7 separate regions of the Homo sapiens genome follow, and regions 1, 2, 3, 4, 6 and 7 are each linked to region 5. The links are contacts of gene promoters, found by promoter capture Hi-C in blood cells and fetal thymus (Javierre and others, 2016). All regions are on one chromosome and are shown on one strand. The core of a region is centred on a gene start or on the middle of the fragment in contact, and the rest is flanking DNA. Distances in the headings are between cores, read along the strand shown. Region 1 holds the start of SEC14L3 (SEC14 like lipid binding 3). Region 2 overlaps NF2 (NF2, moesin-ezrin-radixin like (MERLIN) tumor suppressor). Region 3 holds the start of NIPSNAP1 (nipsnap homolog 1). Region 4 overlaps NF2 (NF2, moesin-ezrin-radixin like (MERLIN) tumor suppressor). Region 5 holds the start of HORMAD2 (HORMA domain containing 2). Region 6 holds the start of NF2 (NF2, moesin-ezrin-radixin like (MERLIN) tumor suppressor). Region 7 overlaps NF2 (NF2, moesin-ezrin-radixin like (MERLIN) tumor suppressor).

Evidence for each region. The method cuts DNA at HindIII sites, captures the fragments that hold promoters and counts their contacts. A CHiCAGO score of 5 or more calls a contact.
Region 1: a contact is called between the fragment with the promoter of SEC14L3 here and the fragment with the promoter of HORMAD2 in region 5, in 5 of 17 cell types (neutrophils, activated CD4 T cells, monocytes and 2 more). The highest score is 9.9, in neutrophils.
Region 2: a contact is called between a fragment that was not itself captured here and the fragment with the promoter of HORMAD2 in region 5, in 1 of 17 cell types (erythroblasts). The highest score is 5.7, in erythroblasts.
Region 3: a contact is called between the fragment with the promoter of NIPSNAP1 here and the fragment with the promoter of HORMAD2 in region 5, in 15 of 17 cell types (non-activated CD4 T cells, total CD4 T cells, erythroblasts and 12 more). The highest score is 12.2, in non-activated CD4 T cells.
Region 4: a fragment that was not itself captured here is called in contact with the fragment with the promoter of HORMAD2 in region 5 in 4 of 17 cell types (erythroblasts, megakaryocytes, M0 macrophages and 1 more); the score reaches 11.6 in erythroblasts.
Region 6: the fragment with the promoter of NF2 here is called in contact with the fragment with the promoter of HORMAD2 in region 5 in 4 of 17 cell types (megakaryocytes, M0 macrophages, total CD8 T cells and 1 more); the score reaches 10.9 in megakaryocytes.
Region 7: a contact is called between a fragment that was not itself captured here and the fragment with the promoter of HORMAD2 in region 5, in 4 of 17 cell types (M0 macrophages, erythroblasts, megakaryocytes and 1 more). The highest score is 8.4, in M0 macrophages.

The regions. Positions count from the first base shown.
Region 1 is chr22:30,470,555-30,473,477 of GRCh38, reverse strand. SEC14L3 (SEC14 like lipid binding 3) reads left to right here and starts at 1,461. Exons shown (of 12, transcript NM_174975.5): 1 at 1,461-1,573; 2 at 2,896-2,923. The coding sequence starts at 1,520. The HindIII fragment of the contact is 8,474 bases long and covers 769-2,923 here.
Region 2 is chr22:29,668,672-29,671,535 of GRCh38, reverse strand. All of the region lies in intron 10 of NF2 (NF2, moesin-ezrin-radixin like (MERLIN) tumor suppressor), which reads right to left. Among named protein-coding and RNA genes, the nearest start is that of CABP7-DT, 50 kb to the left of the region's middle. The HindIII fragment of the contact is 813 bases long and covers 1,116-1,928 here.
Region 3 is chr22:29,579,702-29,582,401 of GRCh38, reverse strand. NIPSNAP1 (nipsnap homolog 1) reads left to right here and starts at 1,289. Exons shown (of 10, transcript NM_003634.4): 1 at 1,289-1,417. The coding sequence starts at 1,320. RefSeq lists a silencer at 1,483-1,532 and an enhancer at 1,516-2,128. The HindIII fragment of the contact is 18,053 bases long and covers 1-2,700 here.
Region 4 is chr22:29,650,718-29,653,417 of GRCh38, reverse strand. The region is part of intron 4 of NF2 (NF2, moesin-ezrin-radixin like (MERLIN) tumor suppressor); the gene reads right to left. Among named protein-coding and RNA genes, the nearest start is that of NF2, 48 kb to the right of the region's middle. The HindIII fragment of the contact is 1,376 bases long and covers 585-1,960 here.
Region 5 is chr22:30,079,208-30,081,977 of GRCh38, reverse strand. It overlaps HORMAD2 (HORMA domain containing 2), which reads right to left and starts at 1,514. Exons shown (of 11, transcript NM_152510.4): 1 at 1,487-1,514. HORMAD2-AS1 (HORMAD2 and MTMR3 antisense RNA 1) reads left to right here and starts at 1,721. Exons shown (of 5, transcript NR_110541.2): 1 at 1,721-1,850. RefSeq lists enhancers at 1,444-1,523, 1,361-2,058 and a silencer at 1,864-1,913. The HindIII fragment of the contact is 6,725 bases long and covers 1-2,770 here.
Region 6 is chr22:29,602,259-29,605,200 of GRCh38, reverse strand. NF2 (NF2, moesin-ezrin-radixin like (MERLIN) tumor suppressor) reads right to left here and starts at 1,568. Exons shown (of 16, transcript NM_000268.4): 1 at 1,089-1,568. The coding sequence starts at 1,202. RefSeq lists a silencer at 1,223-1,802 and an enhancer at 2,053-2,182. The HindIII fragment of the contact is 9,228 bases long and covers 803-2,942 here.
Region 7 is chr22:29,684,650-29,687,588 of GRCh38, reverse strand. The region is part of intron 15 of NF2 (NF2, moesin-ezrin-radixin like (MERLIN) tumor suppressor); the gene reads right to left. Among named protein-coding and RNA genes, the nearest start is that of CABP7-DT, 34 kb to the left of the region's middle. The HindIII fragment of the contact is 2,164 bases long and covers 346-2,509 here.

The DNA.
Region 1 (2,923 bases), core at 212-2,711, 390 kb before region 5:
TTGACAAATCTGTGGTCTGGGTCAGGAAAAGAGCTCAGTGTGAAGGCTCACAACTCCTGAGGAGACCCCCAACCCTCCCTCCTGGCTCTCCTTCACAGTCTCCGATGCCCCTAGAAGTAACTAGCACACCTCACATTATAGGGATTAGGGTGAGAAAGGAGACTGGTGAGAAATGGGCAGGATTAGTGGCTCGGGAAAGGGCAGTGGAGGAACCCAATCTCTGTACATTACTGGCCTGGCAGGAAGTGGGTGTAGACAGCAGCTGGGGCTTTGCAGAAATTGAGGCTGGAATGTGAAATGGGGCAGGGCTGGGGTGTGGAGAGTTACCTAACTGTTCCTGAGTACATGCCACGGGCTCCCCAGGCAGAGGGAAATGGCCAGCATTAGCCCTGCCTTCTCCTTCTGGATCCAACTCTGTGAGGAGCCCAGAGCAAGGAAGATGTCCCTGAGAAGATGTCTGATACTGACCAACATCTACTAGCCTAAAGAGACCCTGGGTTAGCCCAGAATAGAGGCCCACTGTAGCTCAGGGGTGGGTACCCAGGATGCCCCAGGAGTAGGGGACCTAGAAAAGCCCTAGGCAGAATGGTGTGGGCTAGCCCAGCTGCTGGGGCCGAGGCTAGCCCGGGGTTGGTTTCAGCCCATGCAGACCCCCTCAAGGCTGAGATGTGGCCATGTGGCCATGTGGCCATGCTGCAGCCTCAAGCTGATGGTTTCTTCAGAGAGAGTCATGGATAACAGGGTCTCTCCCTTCCTGGAGCTGAAGCTTACAGCTCCAGGGGGGACCAGGAGAGCTGAAGGAGAGTATCCCTCAGATGCACACAACCCTTGACAGTCCCTATGTCTCATTAGATCTTCCCTCTAACCACATAAGGAGGGGAAGGCAAACATTAACGGCCCCATTTTATAAATGAAGCAAGTGACGTTCAAAAGATGCCATCTGTCCTCTTCTTGACTGTGGACACAAAAGAAGGACCTGGGCCTCCCACCCCCAACAAAGTGAATGAACTGTTTACTACACTGACCAAGCCTCAGAATCCTACCCTTTCAGAGCTGGGTAGAGGGGGGTGATCTTTGCAGAATCCTAAGTGTGGGAAGACTGGGGCTCAGGGAGAAAGGGTACCCACAAGGAGCGGTCCTCATTCTCCTGAAACTCCCCCTTCTCCAGGGCAGTGGTCACTGGAGGCCTGGGAGGGTCAGCGGGTTCTACAGGCACTCACTCTGGGCTCCAAGGTCACGGGAGGCCAGCCTCCCTTCCTCCCAGCTGCCTCCTCCTGGCAGGGGACCTCTGGCACACGCTCCATGCCCGCCTGCCCCTCCAGATCTGTCCCCAAGCCAAGCAGGGGACCTCACTTAATCCCAATTATGTAATCTGCAATTTAAACAGTTGGCCCATGAGGAGGCGCTTGGAGCCACGCCCAGGAGTGGGGGCAAAAGGACCCAGCTGGGTCAGGGCTGACAAACTAGGCTTGGCCTCTTGCCTATAGTGGCCACCACTCCTCAAGCCCCAGCCAGCACCATGAGCGGCCGAGTTGGAGACCTGAGCCCCAAACAGGCAGAGACCCTGGCCAAGGTGAGAGCCCCTCCCCCTGGAGTTCCGGAAGACCAGGGGAAAGGGGCTGGGGGGTGGAAAGAAGTGGCTGGAATCCTGCCCCACTCAGTTGATTCAGCATGTCCTTGACATTGTCTCTTTGGTGTTACCTCCCAAAGGGTCAAGCCCCACGGTGCCCAGTAACATCAACCCTGTCCCGGGCGGGGGTTGAGGGACTAGCACCACTTCCAGGCAATAACGTGGGTGGTGCCCACCCAAGTCAAGCCTGACTTCTTCTCATCCAGGAGCCAGAACCAGAGAGGTTTACCTGGCAGCCAGGTACCCCCGTTCCTCCCTCCCAGGCACCATAGGTAGGAGCTGAAAGATGCTGCTGGTCTGCCCTTTAACCCCTTCCTCTTTGGGATCCTGAAAGATGACCAGTCTGTAAAAGCCCAAGAGACAGAGCAGAAAGTGTTGTCTTTCAAAGAGCTAAAGGAAGAAGAGGACATATAATTATTAACCATGTTTTAATAGAAGATGGGATGAAAAAAAGCAGATGTTTTGAGGGCTAACACATGGAGGGAACTAAGAATGCATCCAAACTCCAATCCACTTATTCATCCACCCAATTATTTATCCTTTCTTCTTCTTTTTCTTCTTTTTTTTGAGATGGAGTCTCTGTCATCCAGGCTGGAGTGCTGTGGAGCGATCTCAGCTCACTGCAGCCTCTGTCTCCCAGGTTCAAGCAATTCTCCTGCCTCAGCCTCCTGAGTAGCTGGGATTACAGGCATGTGCCACCACACCTGGCTAATTTTTGTATTTTTAGTAGAGATGAGTTTTCACCATGTTGGCCAGGCTGGTCTCAAACTCCTGACCTCAGGTGATCCACCAACCTCAGCCTCCTAAAGTGCTGGGATGACAGGCGTGAGCCACCATACCTGGCTGTTTATCCTTTCTTTCATCCACCCATCCCTCTTCCTACCCACGCAGCCACCTATCCATCTTTCTTTCTCTCAATCACCCACCCATCTCTCCTCTGTCCATTCACTGATTTATCCACCCACCCACTCTCCATCCATCCATCTATCCATTCATCCATTGATTTCTTCTCCCTTTTTCCATCTACCTACCCACTCACCCATCTATTCTTCTTTCTAACCATTTATTCATCCATCTATCCTCCTTCCATTCATCCACCTATCCAGTGATCCATCTGCCCTTCTATTCAACCATTAACCCATCCTTTCATCAATGTGGGCCATTTTGCATGTGGGAGGAAAGGAGAGGTTGTGAAAACAGTCTTTGAGTCTGGAGGCCAAGGCTCAATGTGAGAGAGCCACTTTAACCAGCATCTCTCTTGCCAGTTCCGAGAAAACGTCCAGGATGTGCTTC
Region 2 (2,864 bases), core at 273-2,772, 410 kb after region 5:
GGTGGAGGGGACAGAGTTTTGCTCTGTCACCCAGGCTGGAGTGCAGTGGCGCGATCTCGGCTCACTGCAACCTCCGCCTCCCAGGTTCAATCAATTCTCCTGCCTCAGCCTCCCGAGTAGCTGGGACTATAGGCACCCGCCACCATGCCTGGCTAATTTTTGTATTTTTAGTAGAGATCAGGTTTCACCATATTGGCCAGGCTGGTCTTGAACTCCTGACCTTATGATCCACCCACCTTGGCCTCCCAAAGTGCTGGGATTACAGGCATGAGCCGCCGCGCCTGGCAGAAGGAGGCATTCTTATACACGGTGCACTGAAATGGCTACCTTGCCAATGTTGCTTTTTGTTGGGAAACCCCAGGTGGCTCTGCCCCATGGCCGATGGGATGCAATGCAGGACCTCCTCCCTCAGATAGAGCCCCAGAAATAAGCAGCTTTCTCATCTGGGCAGGCAAGCCATCTCACCATTTCTAATCCACATGGACCCCTCTCACATCTCTGATTTCATCAACAATAGCTCCACTCTTGCCTCTGACCCACAGAGAAGATGGAATCATTCTACGTGATGCATCAATAGTTCACACATTGTATTTCACAGGGGGGAGCTGCAACAGCCACAGCACAGACTTGCACAGCCTCATGTGGAGACAACTCCTGAGCCAGGCCTAGGACAGGAGGGAGCCAGGCGGGAAACACAGCCCCGTGTCCTTAAGGCAACAGCACAAAGCCACCACTACCTCCCTTGCCTTCTGGATCACTGCATTAATTGGGCCACATGCTGAGCTTAATAAGGGGAACAAGCACAAGACAGTGCCATTCCTCTGTGATCCCAGGGTACTAACTGAGTTCAAAAAGCAGAACCCAGAAGTGACCACTGCACTATTTTCTGCCTTAAATAATTAAAGCACATTTAATTACTTCTTGCTTCAATCTTATCCCACACTCTGGTCATACAAGGTTTCTAAGACTGCTGCTTTTTCTAAATCCTAAGCCAAATACACACACACACACACACACACACACACACACACAAGCTCAAAAAGATAATGCAAAGACAAGCAATAAAACAGTGAAAGTTCTTCTCCAATTTTCTCCTTGTAAGTCAATGAAAAGCTTGGCCAATTTGTTCTCTAATTTCCATCATATTACAATTTCCATAAGGTGGCTTACTACATATCTACAATTCTTTTAAAAAAAAAGAAACTAAGAAAGAAAGAAAGAAAAAGCCCAGTCAGGCCAGGCAGGCATAGCAGCTCATGCCTGTAACCCTAGCACTTTGGGGGGCTGAAGTAGGAGGAATGTTTGAGCCCAGGAGTTTGAGATCAGCCTGGGTAACATAGCAAGACCTGATCTCTACGAAACAATTAAAATTAACTAGGTGTGGTAGCATGCACTTGTAGTCCCAGCTACTTGAGGGGCTGAGGCAGAAGGATTGCTCAAGCCCAGGAGCTTGAGGTTACAGTGAGCTATGATGGCACCACTGCACTCCAGCCTCAGTGACAGAACAAGACCCTTTTATTAAAAAAAAAAGCCAGGTAATCTCCTTCAGTTCCTGGCCCTGTACTTTCCCTGAGACCTCTACCCCAATATAAAAGACCTCCTATTCACAAAAGAAGTTTACTGCATACAAAGACTGTAAGGTGTAATATACGTCCCTTCATCTGAGATGGAGAAGGTATATCATTAGTTTCACCTGATGGATGAGAAAACTAAGGTCTGGAAGGTAAGTCATTGACTTACTCACATTCTAAATTTCAGATCTGGCTCCAAGGTCAGTGTCTGTCCACCTGATCTGTGGTTGCCCAGATGCCAGGTTTGTGGCTCTGCTGTGCTGTAAGCAGTGCCGATCTGCAGTGTTCCTGCTATTCTCTGCCAGGGCCCACAGACTGCATATTCCCTGACACTTTCAGATTTCTTACTTCTAAGCTTTGCTCTGCTAAGAAAAAGGTCAAAGAAAGCTCTCCTCCTCCTTCTTATTTATTTACTTATTTATTTATTTATTTTGGTATTTTGTTTCTGCTTCTGTTTTAAAACAGGGTCTTGCTTGGTCACCCAGGCTGGAATGTAGTGGTGCAATCATAGCTCACTGCAGCCTCAAATTCCTAGGCAAGTGATCCTCCTGCCTTGGCCTCCCAAAGTGCTGGAGTTATAGGGATGAGCCACTGCCACGAGCTCTTCATGAAACTGCCACTATGACCCCATGCTGGCTCAGTAGGATTTCTTTGTCCAACAAATCCATCCCATCACCCTGAAAGCATCCCAAAGAACACATTTGTGGCCCACTACCTCAGAAAGCAAAGAGATAGAGAGCTGAAAGCACACTGGGCATTTCATTCTAAATCCTAGGGCTGGGACCAGCCTCTCCAATGTATCCAAATCAGAAAGGTGCACACAGACTAATTATTACACTTCTGAGCTTGCAAGTCCTGCGGGCAGCCAACTGCAGCTGCTGCTACTCTATCTAGTAGTTTATCCAAAAACACAATTGATATTCTCAGCAGTAAGGCCCAAATTAGTTGTGTGGATTTCCATGAGCAGAGAAGGTTTATGAGTAGAAAACAATGATGCAGATCATCCAGTCTGCTGATAGATGCTCCTGGCACCTCCTGGGGCAGGTGACATGCCATAAGGCCTGACCTGCAGTGGGGAATTGCAGCCAGAGTCAAATTAGCATTCCAGCCGCAAGCACTGAAATGCCACCTGGCATTCTATCACCATCTAATTAGAAAAGGAGAAGGCTGCACAAGGAGGCAGACAGGCAAAAAAAGAAAGCAAGCTAGCTAGCCGGACGGATAGATGCATGCACTCTTGGCTATTTCATCCCAAACTGGTGTTAATCACACTTAATTTCTCCAAGCGTAGAA
Region 3 (2,700 bases), core at 40-2,539, 500 kb after region 5:
GGGTTTCACCCTGTTGGCCAGGCTGGTCTTGAACTCTTGACCTAAACTTCTGATCCACCTTTGCCTCCCAAAATGCTGGGATTACAGGCATGAGCCACCATGCCCGGCAGCAAATTTATAGTTCAACTTTGAAACAAAGATAACAGCCCTCTCCCAAAATAAACCCCTTTCTTGCCTGGGGACCAGACTGCTTTTGTAAGACTAACAAATTAGCCACGAGATTAGAAATTACGGTTTAGGAGTCATGCAGGTAGTGGCCACAGATTCTAAACCTCCCCAGTTGCTCCTAGGGATAACATCACTACTGTAAAACCTAAGATTGGTGCTCAAGATATTTTTCCGATCCTGCACTCAATGGATCCGCTGGCGATACACAGATTAAGAAACCGGATCATCCGGTTTTGTGGCCCCCACCCAGAGATCCACTCAGCACAAGAGGACGGCTTCCACTCCCTATGATTGCATCTCCGACCTGACCAATCAGCACTCTCCACTCTCTGGCCCCTACCCACCAAATTATCCTTAATAAAACCCAGTCTCCGAATTTTCAGGGAGACTGATTTGAGTAATAATAAAACTCCGGTCTCCCATTCAGCCGGCTCTGCATGAATTAAACTCTTATTGCAATTCCTCTGTCTTGATAAATCCGCTGTCTGGGAAACGGGCAAAATGAACCCATGGGGTGGTTACACTGACCCTCTGCTGCACATCCCGGACAGCCTTGTTAAGAACCCTTGGTAGGCTGGGCATGGTGGCTCACGCCTGTAATCCCAGCACTTTGGGAGCACGAGGCAGGCAGATCACGAGGTCAGGAGATCGAGACCATCCTGGCTAACACGGTGAAACCCCGTTTCTACTAAAAATACAAAAAATTAGCTGGGCGTGGTGGCAGACGCCTGTAGTTCCAGCTACTCGGGAGGCTGAGGCAGGAGAATGGCGTGAACCCAGGAGGCGGAGCTTGCAGTGGGCCGAGATCGCGCCACTGCGCTCCAGCCTGGGCGACAGAGCGAGACTCCGTCTCAAAAAAAAAAAAAAAAAAAAAAAGAACCCTTGGTATTATTGTTCCACGCTCCCATTTTACCGAGGTGGATCCTGAGGCCCAGAGTGGGCAAAGGGCTTGCCAAGGTCGCAGAGCGCGCAGAGGATTAGAACCCTGACTTCCGTCCAGCACCTGCGGAGTTGGAGACGCCCACAGGAAACGCCCACCTGACCGGGTGAGTGAGGGGGCGGGCGAGCCGGAGGGGTGGAGTTTATTCGCGCCCCGCCTCCGCCACCAGGGCTTGGGGGCGGGGCCTTCCTGCAACCTTTGCGGCTCCAACATGGCTCCGCGGCTGTGCAGCATCTCTGTGACGGCGCGGCGGCTGCTGGGGGGCCCGGGGCCTCGCGCTGGGGACGTTGCGTCTGCAGCTGCGGCGCGGTGAGAGCCCGGCCAGGCAGGGATAGACGCGCGCGGGGTGGGGTGCAGGCGCGGGGGCCAGGGACTGGGTCGTGGGGGAGGGGCTGAGACTCCTCGCTTGGAATCTGGGGGTTAGAGGCGGGGCAGGATCAAGGCCTAGGGAGGGGTCTGGGCAAAGAATGGGGGAGGTGAGAAAGGGATGGGTAGGGTCTTTGTCCTGGTTGGGACCGGGCTGTGATGGGGACCTGATGAAAGATGGTGAGAAGGGCAGGTACTGGGCCCTGGAGAGTGGGAGAGGGCAGAAGACAGGAGGAGTGGCCCATTCCCAGGCGTAGCTTGTGATTTAACACCCACTGGGGGCTTCTGGTAGTCAGCTCCTCCGTCGGGAAGTTCTGTGGGAAAGAGATGATGGCAGGGGAGCAGTGGGGGATCCCCAGGGGCCATGGCTGCACAGACCCTTTGTTCCTCCACCTCGAACTGTACAGGTGGGGAAACGGACCTGAGAGGGAATGGGAGTTGTCCAAGGTCACCCTCCCTGCTGTGCCGTGGCAGCACCAGGTCTGGGACCCAGGCCTGCCAATGCGCCATGCACTTTGCACCCAACTGGTGGCCTCCTGGGAGTGGGAGTCTGGCTGGGCCATGTGCTCTCAGCCTGGGCTTTTGTTTGGGCCCTGCTCTGGGCTGAGCTAGGGCTTGGCCTCCCTGACTGGCCCTGGGCAGCCCCTCACTCCTTGGTCCCCACAGCCCTGTACTTCCCCCATCTCTGCATATATGACCCTGCACAGTTATGACTTGGTGCTTGTCTGTCTCTCTCACTAGACCATGATCTCATTTTTCTCTGTTTCCCCAGCCTCCCACCCTCAGAGGGCTCAGGACTGTGTATGGTCAAGGAATATTTACCAAAGAAGTGAGGCCACCTGTTCCCCCTCCCCCAACCTGTGAAAAGGAAGCAACCATCCCTCCTGCCCTGCAGCCCAGGAATGAAGCTGCAAAGTTCTGATAGTGCCTGCCATGAGATGTTACAGCACAGAGCAGTGGGGCTTTTGGACAGCTGGGAAAGAGGAGTGGCATAAGCGCCCCACCTAGACTGCCCAATAATTAGGGATAAAGCTGACACCGTGGGAAAAGCCTAGAGTTTGCCTGGCACTAACAGATCTAACTCAGACTTTGTAGGTGGGGTGACCTCAGGACTCTTTAAGCCTCGGGTTCCTCATCTGTAAAATGGGAGTAATCAGGATGTATCTCATAGGGTTGTTGAGGATTAAAGATGCTGTGGTTGGTCGGGTATGGTGGCTCATGCCTGT
Region 4 (2,700 bases), core at 23-2,522, 430 kb after region 5:
GGCTGGAGTGCAATGGCGTGATCTCAGCTCACCGCAACCTCCACCTCCCAGGTTCAAGCAATTCTCCTGCCTCAGTATCCTGAGCAACTGGGATTACAGGTGCACGCCACCACCCCGGGCTAATTTCTGTATTTTTAGTAGAGACAGGGTTTCACCATGTTGGCCAGGCTGGTCTCGGACTTCTGATGTTGTGATCTGCCCGCCTCAGCCTCCCAAAGTGCTGAGATTACAGGCGTCAGCCACCGCGCCTGGCCTAATTTGTCAAATTTAAACATTTTAAACATGCCACAGTTTTTGTAACACAGTTTAGGCATTTCTTCATTTAAAAAAATAGGGTGGGCACCATGGCTCATGCCTGTAATCCTAGGACTTTGGGAGGCCAAAATGGGAGGGTCACTTGAGCCCACGGGTTAAGGCTACAGTGAGCTGTGATTGTGCCACTACACTCCAGCCTGAGTGACAGTGGAAGACCCTGTCTATAAAAATAAAAAATAACTTAGAAATTATAAATGAAAGGCCTTGGTATCTCTCTATTTCTGGGAGGCTCAGAGATGTGATGCAGTAAGTCGTAACTGTACTAAGCTTTAACAGTACTCCCTGCAAGGCAGCTGTAGAGTGAGGGTAGGAGCCTGGCTCTGGAGGCAGGCTGCCTAAGGTTTTATCCTACATCTTTCACATAGTAGCTATGTGGCCTTGGAAATTTTTGTGTCTCAGCTTTCTCATCTGTAAAACAGGAATAATAATAGTATTTATCTTGCAGGACTCTTACAGGGATTTAATTAAATAAGACCAGCAAAGTTTTTAAAACTATGCTTGGCTGGGCGTGGTGGCTCACACCTGTAATCCCAGCACTTTTGGGAGGCCTAGGCGGGCAGATCACCTGAAGTTGAGAGTTTGAGAGCAGCCTGACCAAATGGAGAAACCCGTCTCTACTAAAAATACAAAATCAGCCAGGCGTGGTGGTACATGCCTGTAATCCCAGCTATTCGGGAGGCTGAGGCAGGAGAATCGCTTGAACCCGGGAGGCGGAGGTTGCAGTGAGCCAAGATCATGCCATTGCACTACAGCCTGGGCAACAAGAGCAAAACTCCATCTCAAAAAATAACAAAATAAAATAAAATAAATAAAACTATGCTTGACACATAAACCTGATGTCCAAAAGATCTCAGGTCTCTCCAAATCTGTCTTTCATTTGTCAAATGAGAGCACTGGCCTTAGAGGATCCTGAAGGGAAGTGGGGGGGTGCTGAAGTACCCCTTCTGAGGCCTTGAGTAAGGCATCCTCTCTCTAAGCCTCAACTTCCTCATCTGTAGAGTGAGGGTCATAATAGCATCTGCCTTATAGGGGATGATGAGGATGAAGTAAAACAATACAGGTAAGCATTTCGCACAGCACATGGCTTATGGTGAAAGTCAGGTATTATTATTATTGCCATCCTCTGCATTACTTATGACAACATTGATCATTGTTTGCCTCCTGGATTTTTGAAAGGGTAGGATGCTAAAAGAAAGCCCTGTTAGTTGCATTTGCAAATCTCTCAACAGTGCTGACCAAGCTCTAATGCAAAAGCAAGCAGATATGCAAAGTTAAAGCTGTAAATTCAGGTTCCAAAGGCATGCAAGATTAACAACCCCCATTATTATACCAAGTTCTCAGCTAGTCCACTGATCAAATACATCACATTTGAGCAATGCAGAGGTGGCAAAGACCCTGCTGAAAGAACTTCTCCACTGGACTAACTCTGCTTCCAACATTAAAGCCACCTTGATGTATGTGTCTGCTCTTAAATGTCTCTTTAAACAACAAGGGAAGAAAAAAATCCTGAAGTTGTGGTAGCTGGTGAATACAAAAGAAAGTCATACCACTCCAGGGATGGAGATGGCTGCTCCTCATCGTTTTATGTAACAGATGCATTCTGATAATGTAACCAGGGTGAATTTACTGGGAAGCTAAGGAAGCTTGGATTTCAGGTCTCTGCACCTTCATATGCCTGTACCTAATTTGGTACTCTTGCATTAAAGACAATCCCCTAAATTATTAAAATTCAGACCCAGAAAACCTGGACCTACTCGTGACATAAACTAATTGAATTTAAATTCAAGGAGTTTACCATTTAAAAGACTTGTGGAGCCAATACTTAGGTTAAACGGAGGCTCTATCTGGATATGAAATAATTTCCTGTCTATAACTATGAGAAATGAGATAAAATGCTCTGAGTAGGATTTCACAAAAACATAAAGGTTAGATTACTACATATATAGAAAAAAGACAGACCCCCTCCCTACTATACCCACACACCAGTCAATAAATTCTTAAACCTATAAATGAAAATCCATAAAAATACCAGAACAAAACATAACAGAGTATGGATATAATAATGGTTGGTAAACGCATTCTAAAAGTCACTCAAAACATACAAAGAAAAAGATTGACCAGTCCTATACGTAAAATAGACAAAAGGTTGATAACTCATAATACATGGAGCATCTACAAATCAATCGGAAAAAGATGAACAGGTTGGGTGCAGTGGCTCATGCCTGTAATCCCAGCACTTTGAGAGGCCGAGGCGGATGGATCACCTGAGGTCAGGAGTTCCAGACCAGTCTGGCCAACATGGTGAAACCTCATCTGTACTAAAAATACAAAAATTAGCTTGGCATGGTGGCGCATGCCTATAGTCCCGGCTCCTCTGGAGGCTGA
Region 5 (2,770 bases), core at 265-2,764:
AAAGAAACTTAACCTAAATCTCACACTGTATACAAATATTAATGCAAAATGGATCATGGATTTAAACCTAAACATAAAACTATAAAGAAAAGGGGCCAGGTGCAGTGGCTCACACCTGTAATCCCAGCACTCTGGGAGGCCGAGGTGGGAGGATCACGAGGTCAAGAGATCGAGACTATCCTGGCCAACATGGTGAAACCCTGTCTCTACTAAAAATAAAAAAAAATAAAAAAATTTAGCTGGGCGTGGTGGTGCACACCTGTAGTCCCAGCTACATGGGAGGCTGAGGCAGGGGAATCGCTTGAACCCGAGAGGTGGAGGTTGCAGTGAGCTGAGATTGCGTCACTGCACTCCAGCCTGGCACAGAGCTCGACTCCATCTCACAAAAAAAAAAGAAAAAAGAAAAGGAAAGTGAGGCTAAGCAAGGGAACTTGGTTTGCCAAAGTTCGCCCAATTACTTAGACCTTCCAACAGAGCTTGCTTCAATAAATTATTCACCATTTTAACAAATTCCATTTGGCCCTGGTAATTCCCCTACCTGTGCTCATTCAGAGAAAATGGCTTCCACTATATTAATTGAGTATTTGTTCATGCTCTTTTGACTTTTTAATATCTTTTTCATGCTATTTCAATTATTCATTCATTCAACATCTACGAGGCAACTACAATGTGCCAGGCAACAACATGCAGGATTACGAGATGTAAAATACTGTTCCTACCTCAACAGATTGATGGTCCAATGGAGGAGAAATTAGATTATGATCCTGCTGAGATTAAAAACCCCTTTAGGGGCCAGAACCACCCCTCATTTCTACCAGCTGAGTACACGATGTACTGCACAGCCTGTCCAGTGCCCTGCGTACTCGGACACATTTTGGCGATTGGCTAATCCTGAGGTTCAAGACTCTCTCCCTCTGTTTAGGGAACTAAAGTCCATAGGGATTAATTGGCAAATCCTCACTAAAGTGAAAGGGGAGCTGAGGTCAAGGGGGGCGGGGTGTCTTGTCCCCACCTCTCTCACCTCTTGGCCTGTACCAGGCATCGATCCTGGCAGAAAACCTCAATGGCTGGGGAGAATCTGACCCAGGTAAGATAAACTTCCCCAAAGCTCCACCACACACGGCCCCCTCCAATGTCGGGCACAGACATCGTCTGCCCTGCCAGCCTCATCATGGCTCATTATGGCTGCTGCTTGCTCAGCAAGTTTGATTTCATGTCCAGAAAAATCTGAATTTCAAAACTACCTGGGTGCTCTCTGTCCAGTTCTGGGGGAAATCGCCTCCCTTTTGCCTTCCTCCTCAGCCCCCTGCCCTCCCGATTCTCTTCACAGTACTTTAGGCCCTCACGAAATATGATACTTTCAAATCCAACTTAAAGCCTTAAGTAATAAGAAAAGAAAAAAAAATTGTTTTTTGACATAAAGACAGAACTAACAACGCCCGAGTGCCCTCTCTGGGCCGAGACCTCGCGTCTCAACAGCCCTCACCTCAGCTCGTCGACGCTTCCCTCCCACCGGGGGTCAACGGCCTTTTCCGGCCCAAACCCGCTCCTCGGCTCATGAATAGTCAACGAGGCCTTTCTGGGCGGGACCAGAGGTTTCCTCATGAATAATTCATGACCCGTCCACGGCTAGCCTGGGCGACCGGCCTCGCTAGACTTCATGAATATGCAAAGCAGGGGCGAACGGCGGCTAGCCGGCCCCTAGCCCGCCCGGCCCCTCAGCAGCCGCCTCTCAGCCACGGGCTGCACACTGACCCGACGCGACCTTCGGTCAGGGGCCGCCAGCCTGGGCCACCTATACAACGACAGCCTGCTCCGGGGCTTCCTGAGGAGGTGCCTGCCCCGCCGAGGTTAGGACCCGAGGGACCGTGGGGCTCGGGCGGGCCAGGACGCCAGGCCGGCGGGTCCCAGAGAGGTCTGAGGCGGGCGCGGGGCGGCGTAGGGGAGGGAAGCGAGAGCCTGGGGGGCCCAGGGACCCGAGTTAGAAGAAGGCCCGAGAAGTGCGGCGCGGTGGCTCCACCTGGGATCCCAGCACTCTGGGAGGCTGAGGCGGGCGCGTCACTTGAGGTCAGGAATTCGAGACCAGCCTGGCCAACATGTTGAAAACCCGTCTCTACAAAAAATACAAAAATTAGCTGGGCGTGGTGGCGCGCGCCTGTAGTCCCAGCTACTTGGGAAGCTGAGGCACGAGAATCGCTTGAGCCCAGGAGGCTGAGGTTGCAGTGAGCCGAGATTCCGCCATTGCACTCCAGCCTGGGCGACAGAGCGAGACTCCGTCTCAAAAAAATTTTAAAAAGTACAAAAATTAGCTGGGCCACCTGACGTGCGCCTGTAGTCCCAGCTGCTCGGGAGGCTGAGGTAGGAGGATCGCTTGAGCCGGGGAGTTTGAGGTTGCAGTGAGCCAAGATCGTACCATTGCACTCCAGCCTGGGCAACAGAGGGAGACCCTGTCTCAAAAATAAAAAAAAAGAAAAGAAAGAAAAAAGACATAAGGCCAGAAGGCCAGAGCTTTCCAATACTTGAGGGCATCTGCAACCTCTTCATCCCTACCCTGGACCTGACTTTGCATTCTTTTTAACATTAATTTGTAATTATGCAAATAAAACATAAATATATTCTCCTTTGTGCCCTACCCCTAATCTCAGTTTTTTCTGCCCTGGTAACTGTGGGAGCAGTTGGGGGTGTGGCTCCTTGGATCGTTTCTCACCTGTTTAGGTAGATATTTCGTATCCTGTGGTGCTTTCCAAAGGCTCCTGGAGTCCCATGAACC
Region 6 (2,942 bases), core at 319-2,818, 480 kb after region 5:
CTGGGTGACAGAGCGAGACTCCGTCTCAAAAAAAAAAAAAAAAAAAAAATTAGCCAGGTGTGGTGGCACACGCCTGTGGTCCCAGCTACTCGAGAGGCTGAGGCAGGAGGACTGATTGAGCCAGGGAGGTTGGTCAGGGTTGCAGTAAGCCATGATCACACTACTGCATGCCAGCCTCGGTGACAGAGTGAGATTCTGTCTCAAAACGAAACAAAACAAAAAAGAATTTTCACCAGTTTTACAGAGGAATGGGTTCCTTAAGCTGTCATGCTGGAAGCTGATCTTATCTAAGGCTGCTTTTGTGTTACAATGGTAGAGTTGAAGAGTTGAATAACTCCAACAGAGATTCTCTAGTCTACAAAGTTGAAAATATTTACTATGTGGTCCTGTACAGAAAAAGCATGCCAACCCTTGCTTACTGCTGCCAATGCTGCTGGTCCACAAACCACACTTTTAGCAGCAAGAACTTAAATTACTTGAGAAGCAGTACTGTACGGGCTGTGAGCTTGGTTCAAAACCCCACCTTGCCATTTACTAGATAAATGGGTTTGTTCTGAGGATTAAATGTGCAAATGTCTAGCACTTTGAAAATACTGAACAATTGATAGCTGTTATCATCATGTTGGAAACTATGTGGAAAGTAAGTATGAGATGTTATATCGTTCTTCAAAGGGTTTTTTTTCCCAGAATATGCAAGCTTTAGAAAAGGGAAACAAGTATTGGCTTTCCAATAAACAAGACGCAACTTCTAATACCTGGGTACATAACAATATTACCTAATGAAAGAATAAACTTTCAAGCTTTTAAGCGTAAGCCTAACTTAAGCCTGACACTGAAATCCTGAATTTTCTATCACAGGAGCATCCAGCTTCTTCCAATAACAATGAATGAAAATAACCTTCAGGAAATGCCAAAACCCAAAAGTCCTATGAAAAAAAGCAGCAATCATCTTTAACATGAGGTTTTGGGCCTAGTTGGCCCTTCCGGTTCTGCCCGTCTCTAGCTACACCCATAAGATGATATAAAGAGAACCTCTCGAGCTTCCACCTCGACTGTCACCGCAGCAGTCGGGGCTGCCGGCCGGTTACCTCGCAATTGAACTCCATCTCGGCGTCCATGGTGACGATCCTCACGGTGAACGTCTTGGGTTGCTTCCTCTTGAGAGAGCTGAAGCTCATGCGGGAAGCGATGGCCCCGGCCATGGCGCGGGGCTCAGGCCCGGGACCCTCGCGCCCCACGGCCTGCACTCTGAGCCCTTTAGCCCCCCTGGAGTTGCTGCACAGGCCTCAGGGCCACCATGGTGGCCGGCTGCCCGGCCCGGGAACGGTCTGGGCTGCGCGGGTCCCCAGCGGCCAGCATGGGCCGCGAGGACCCTGCCTGAGCGGAAAGGGGAGTTGGGGGACGGGCCCTGACGGCTGCAGGGAGGGCACAGGAGCCGGGACCTTCGGTGCAGGCGCGACCCGGCACTCCGGGATTCGGGCCGGAGATGCCGGGGACGCCTCGGGACGGGACCCCTAGACGGCAGCGGCCCAGACTCCGCGCGCCTCTCAGCGGCCGACTAGGGTCACGGGGCCGCGCTGCATCGGGCGCGTACGCGCGCGCGTGGCTGTCACCGTCCTCACTCCGCGCGCCCGCGGGAAGCGCACCCTCCCCACAGCCCGGGGCCTGCTCCCGGCCCCGCCCTCAGGTCGCCCAGACCACTACGCGCAGCGCAACCGAACCGGAGGCTGACGCATAGATGCTGCGATTGGCTGGGAAGGCCAAGGTAGGCAGGACTTTCCCGCTCCGTCCCGCCTCCTTTGGGGTGACTCCACCAATGGAAAGTTTCACTCTAACTGCAAAAAAAGCAGGCCTAGGCTCGGCGTTGAGTGGCTACAGTGGCAGTCACTCTGAATGCTTTTGTGCCTACTCTAACAAGACTGGTTGAGGCGGCGGACCTCTGCTGACCTTACCCGGGAAACCACTTAGAGGCTGGATCCGGGGCGAGGGGAATTGGGTCCTTCGTTGGCCCAGGGAGGGACTCTTCGGTTCAAGTAGGCTCCGAGTGTGGCGCCCCAGGGGACTGCGTTTCGGACACACGGCGAATATTCTTCTTTGGCAGTTAATCACATATACCGACCCCTATGAAACTTTAAAGACACTTGTGGAGGCCTGTTAGGTTTGCTGGCACTTTCCCGCCAGATCCCTCTGCTTCCCTTTAGAATTATTATTATTATTGTTATTATTATTATTATTAATTATTATTATTATTGGGACGGAGTTTCGCTCTTGTTGCCCAGGCTGGAGTGCAGTGGCGCGATCTCGGCTCACTGCAACCTCCGCCTCCCGGGTTCAAGCGATTTTCCGGCGTCAGCCTCCCGAGTAGCTGGGATTACAGGTATGCGTCACCACGCCCGGCTAATTTTGTATTTTTATTAGAGACGGGGTTTCTCCATGTTCGTCAGGCTGGTCTCGAACCTCAGGTGATCCGCCCGCCTCGGCCTCCCGAAGTGCTAGGATTACAGGCGTGAGCCACCACGCCCCGCCTAGAATTATTATTGGTTATACCTACCTCGTGAGGTTGTTGAATTTCAGCGCACTGAATACATATAAGGCTTTAGAGCTGAGCCTGGCATCCTATGAAATTGCTGAATTTGGGTTGAAAATGAAAGCATTCTTTATTTTATACTCTATGATGCCCATTTTTGAACCGTATTCATGTATTATTTATTTAGTGTCATCAAGGGTTCTAACGGGTGTAGGGGGGATAATTACACCTTTCTGTACTTAGATAATAAATTCTATTTTAAAATAGCTCTTAGTAGTCAAATAGGGACAATTTACTGTGTTTTTTCGTTTGTTTTTTGTTTTGAGACAGAGTTTCGCTCTTGTTGCCCAGGCTGGAGTACAATGGGGCGGTCTCGGCTCTCTGCAACCTCCGCCTCCCGGGTTCAAGCAATTCT
Region 7 (2,939 bases), core at 178-2,677, 390 kb after region 5:
AGGAGCCATCTTCAGGGCTGGCAATGCAGACCAGAGGTCGCCAGGGAGGCTCTGGCCACTTGTTTTAATTGTGGGAGACACCTTTCCCGCATATGCAATCTCTCTCTGTGATTTATCACTTCCCCGGGTGTTTTTTTAACTGTTCTACTTCACTTCACTGGCTCTGCAACTCCAAGGGGAGCCTGCACAAATTGAAGATGACATTGGACTTTTATGTCTTCCTGATCCAAGAGAAGCTGCTGGCGCTTGAGATAAATGTCAAGGCTCCTCTTCTTCCTGTTCCTCCATCAGTGGAAACCACAGCTGGACCTTGACGGTTCAAACCATTTACTAATGAAATAAGCTTTCTAAGCTCCACCACCCCCATGATTTCTCATCCGTCAATTTCCTTGGAAATCCTGTGCTCCTTGGGAGACCACAGGCACAAAAGTGATGACTTTGTTTGCTGGCACTCAGACCAGCTCAGGATCGGGAGACTGAAACCCCTCTCTTGAGAAGCGATGAAAGAAAGACCCTGAATGTATATATTCCAGGACTGCATTCTACCATCAAGGTATGGTGGTACAGTTACGCCACACCAAGCCACCACTCCCATCATTGGCACTGTGGCTCTGAAGGCACGAAAGCCAGGCTCAAGGCACCCTGTGTCCCTCAACCCCAGCCTGATGGCCAGACTCACTCCCCTCACTCGGAAGGCTCAGATGCCAGGACACGTGTCGCTCCCACTGAGAATGAAACAATTCCAGGTTCCCCAGGGCGGCTTTTGATCGCTAGCACTGCTCTGACTCAGATGCAAATGGCAAACTAGTTGTACTGATCATCAATTGGGAAAAATGGAAATACAGGAAGTTAAGATTAGCAAGAGGAGAAAAATACATCCTTGCAAACCCAAGTGAAATATTACAAGGAAACAGTGAAGTTAATTATGGCTATTTATTTATTTATTTATGAGATGGAATCTTGCTCTTGTTGCCCAGGCTGGAGTGCAATGGCACGATCTTGGCTCACTGCAACCCCCACCTCCCAGGTTCAAGCAATTCTCCTGCCTCAGCCTCCCAAGTAGCTGGGTTTACAGGCATGCGCCACCACACCTGGCAAATTTTGTATTTTTGGTAGAGACGGGGTTTCTCCATGTTGGTCAGGCTGGTCTCGAACTCCTGACCTCAGGTGATTCACCTGCCTCGGCCTCCCAACGTGCTGGGATTATAGGCATGAGCCACTGTGCCCGGCCAATTATGGCTTTTTAAAAGTTTTTACTTTCAGCCACGTAGCAATTAATACAATGAATGAATATGCCCAGCACAAGCAGTGTACCTAGATGTGGCGGTGTGGCCCACATGCCGTCCTTCGCCCTTTGCTGCAGGATCACAAGCAGATTTTCCCTTTTCAGAGTTTTAACCCCTTACTGAGCTCTGACTGTGCACTGAGTGTTGCACACACATTCTCTCATTTATTCCTCACAACACTCCTGGGGGCAAAGACTATTTTTATCCACCTTTTGCAGGTGAGGACACTGTGCCTCAAGAGAGAGTAAGAATTCATCCTTTTTTATAGCTGCATGTATACATATGTAACAAACCTGCACGTTGTGCACATGTACCCTAGAACTTAAAGTATAATAAAAAAAAAAAAAGAGAGAGCGAGCGAGTAAGAATTATAGAGAAAGGAAGTGGCAGAGAAGTAGGAACCTCGGTTAATCAGACTGGATGGCCGCTCAGCATTCCTCAGGGAATGCGGTAACCCCTGGTAACCTAAGGGCAAACTCCTTGAATCAGCTTCAATGTTACACAGCCCCCATGGGTACTGCTGAAACCACACAGCAGACTCTGAGACCTCTCAGTGAGGCAGAAGAGTACTGAAAACGAGGACAAATACAATGGCCAGGCAAGATGGCTCATGTCTGTAATCCCAGCATTTTGGGAGGCTGTGGCAGGAAGATCACTTGAGCTCAGGAGTTCGAGACCAGCCTGGAAACATGGCGAAACCCATCTTTACAAAAATAAAAATAAAAAAATCAGTCAGGCATGGTGGCAAATGCCTGTAGTCCCAGCTACTTGGGAGGCTGACGTGGGAGGATCGCTTGAGCCCAGGAGGTCGAGGCTGTCACCAAGGTGGGTGACAGAGTGAGATCCTGTCTCAAACAAAACAAAACAAACAAAAAACCTTATTAAAAACAAAACAGGCCAGGCACAGTGGCTCACTTTTATAATCCCAGCACTCTGGGAGGCAGAGGCGGGCAGATTGGTTGAGCTCAGGAGTTCGAGACCAGCCTGGGCAACATGGCGAAACCCCATCTCTATAAAAAATACAAAAATTAGTTGAGTGTGGTGGCTAGTACCTCTAGTCTCAGCTACTTGGGAGGCTGAGGCAGGAGGATCACTTGAGCCTGTGAGGTGGAGGTTGCAGTGAGCCGAGAATGTACCAGCCTGGGTGACAGAGGGAGACCGTGTCTCAAAACAAAGCAAAACTAACATCAACACAGGCTGGTTTGATCCCAGATTAGCAAGCTTTTGGACATTGGAAACTGTTCCATTCACTATCAGCTTTTGCATCTCATCCCCAGGCATTCTAGATGGAGTTCTGCCCTTGACATCTAGGTATCCCCACATCCAAGCCTAAAGCAGTACTTCTCTTCAGCTAGGCTTGTGCCAGCCAGACTGCAGCATGCACCACCCCAGAGCCACCCTAGTGCAGGCATGTGGCTGCTCATCAGTCCCGGTCACTGACCACAGGCACTGCCAAAGTCTAGAAAATGGAACATGCACTGAACTTCATGTGCAGCAAAATTTAATAGTGCAGCATTATTGAATCTAGTGATGCTGAGAGAATGCCTGTCCCATTAAACATCAAGTCCCTGCTTTTATTAACCCTTGATTAACCCGAGTGTTTGATTAACTGCCTGGTAGCCTGCTTTAAAAACAAGTTCACATCGAGACATT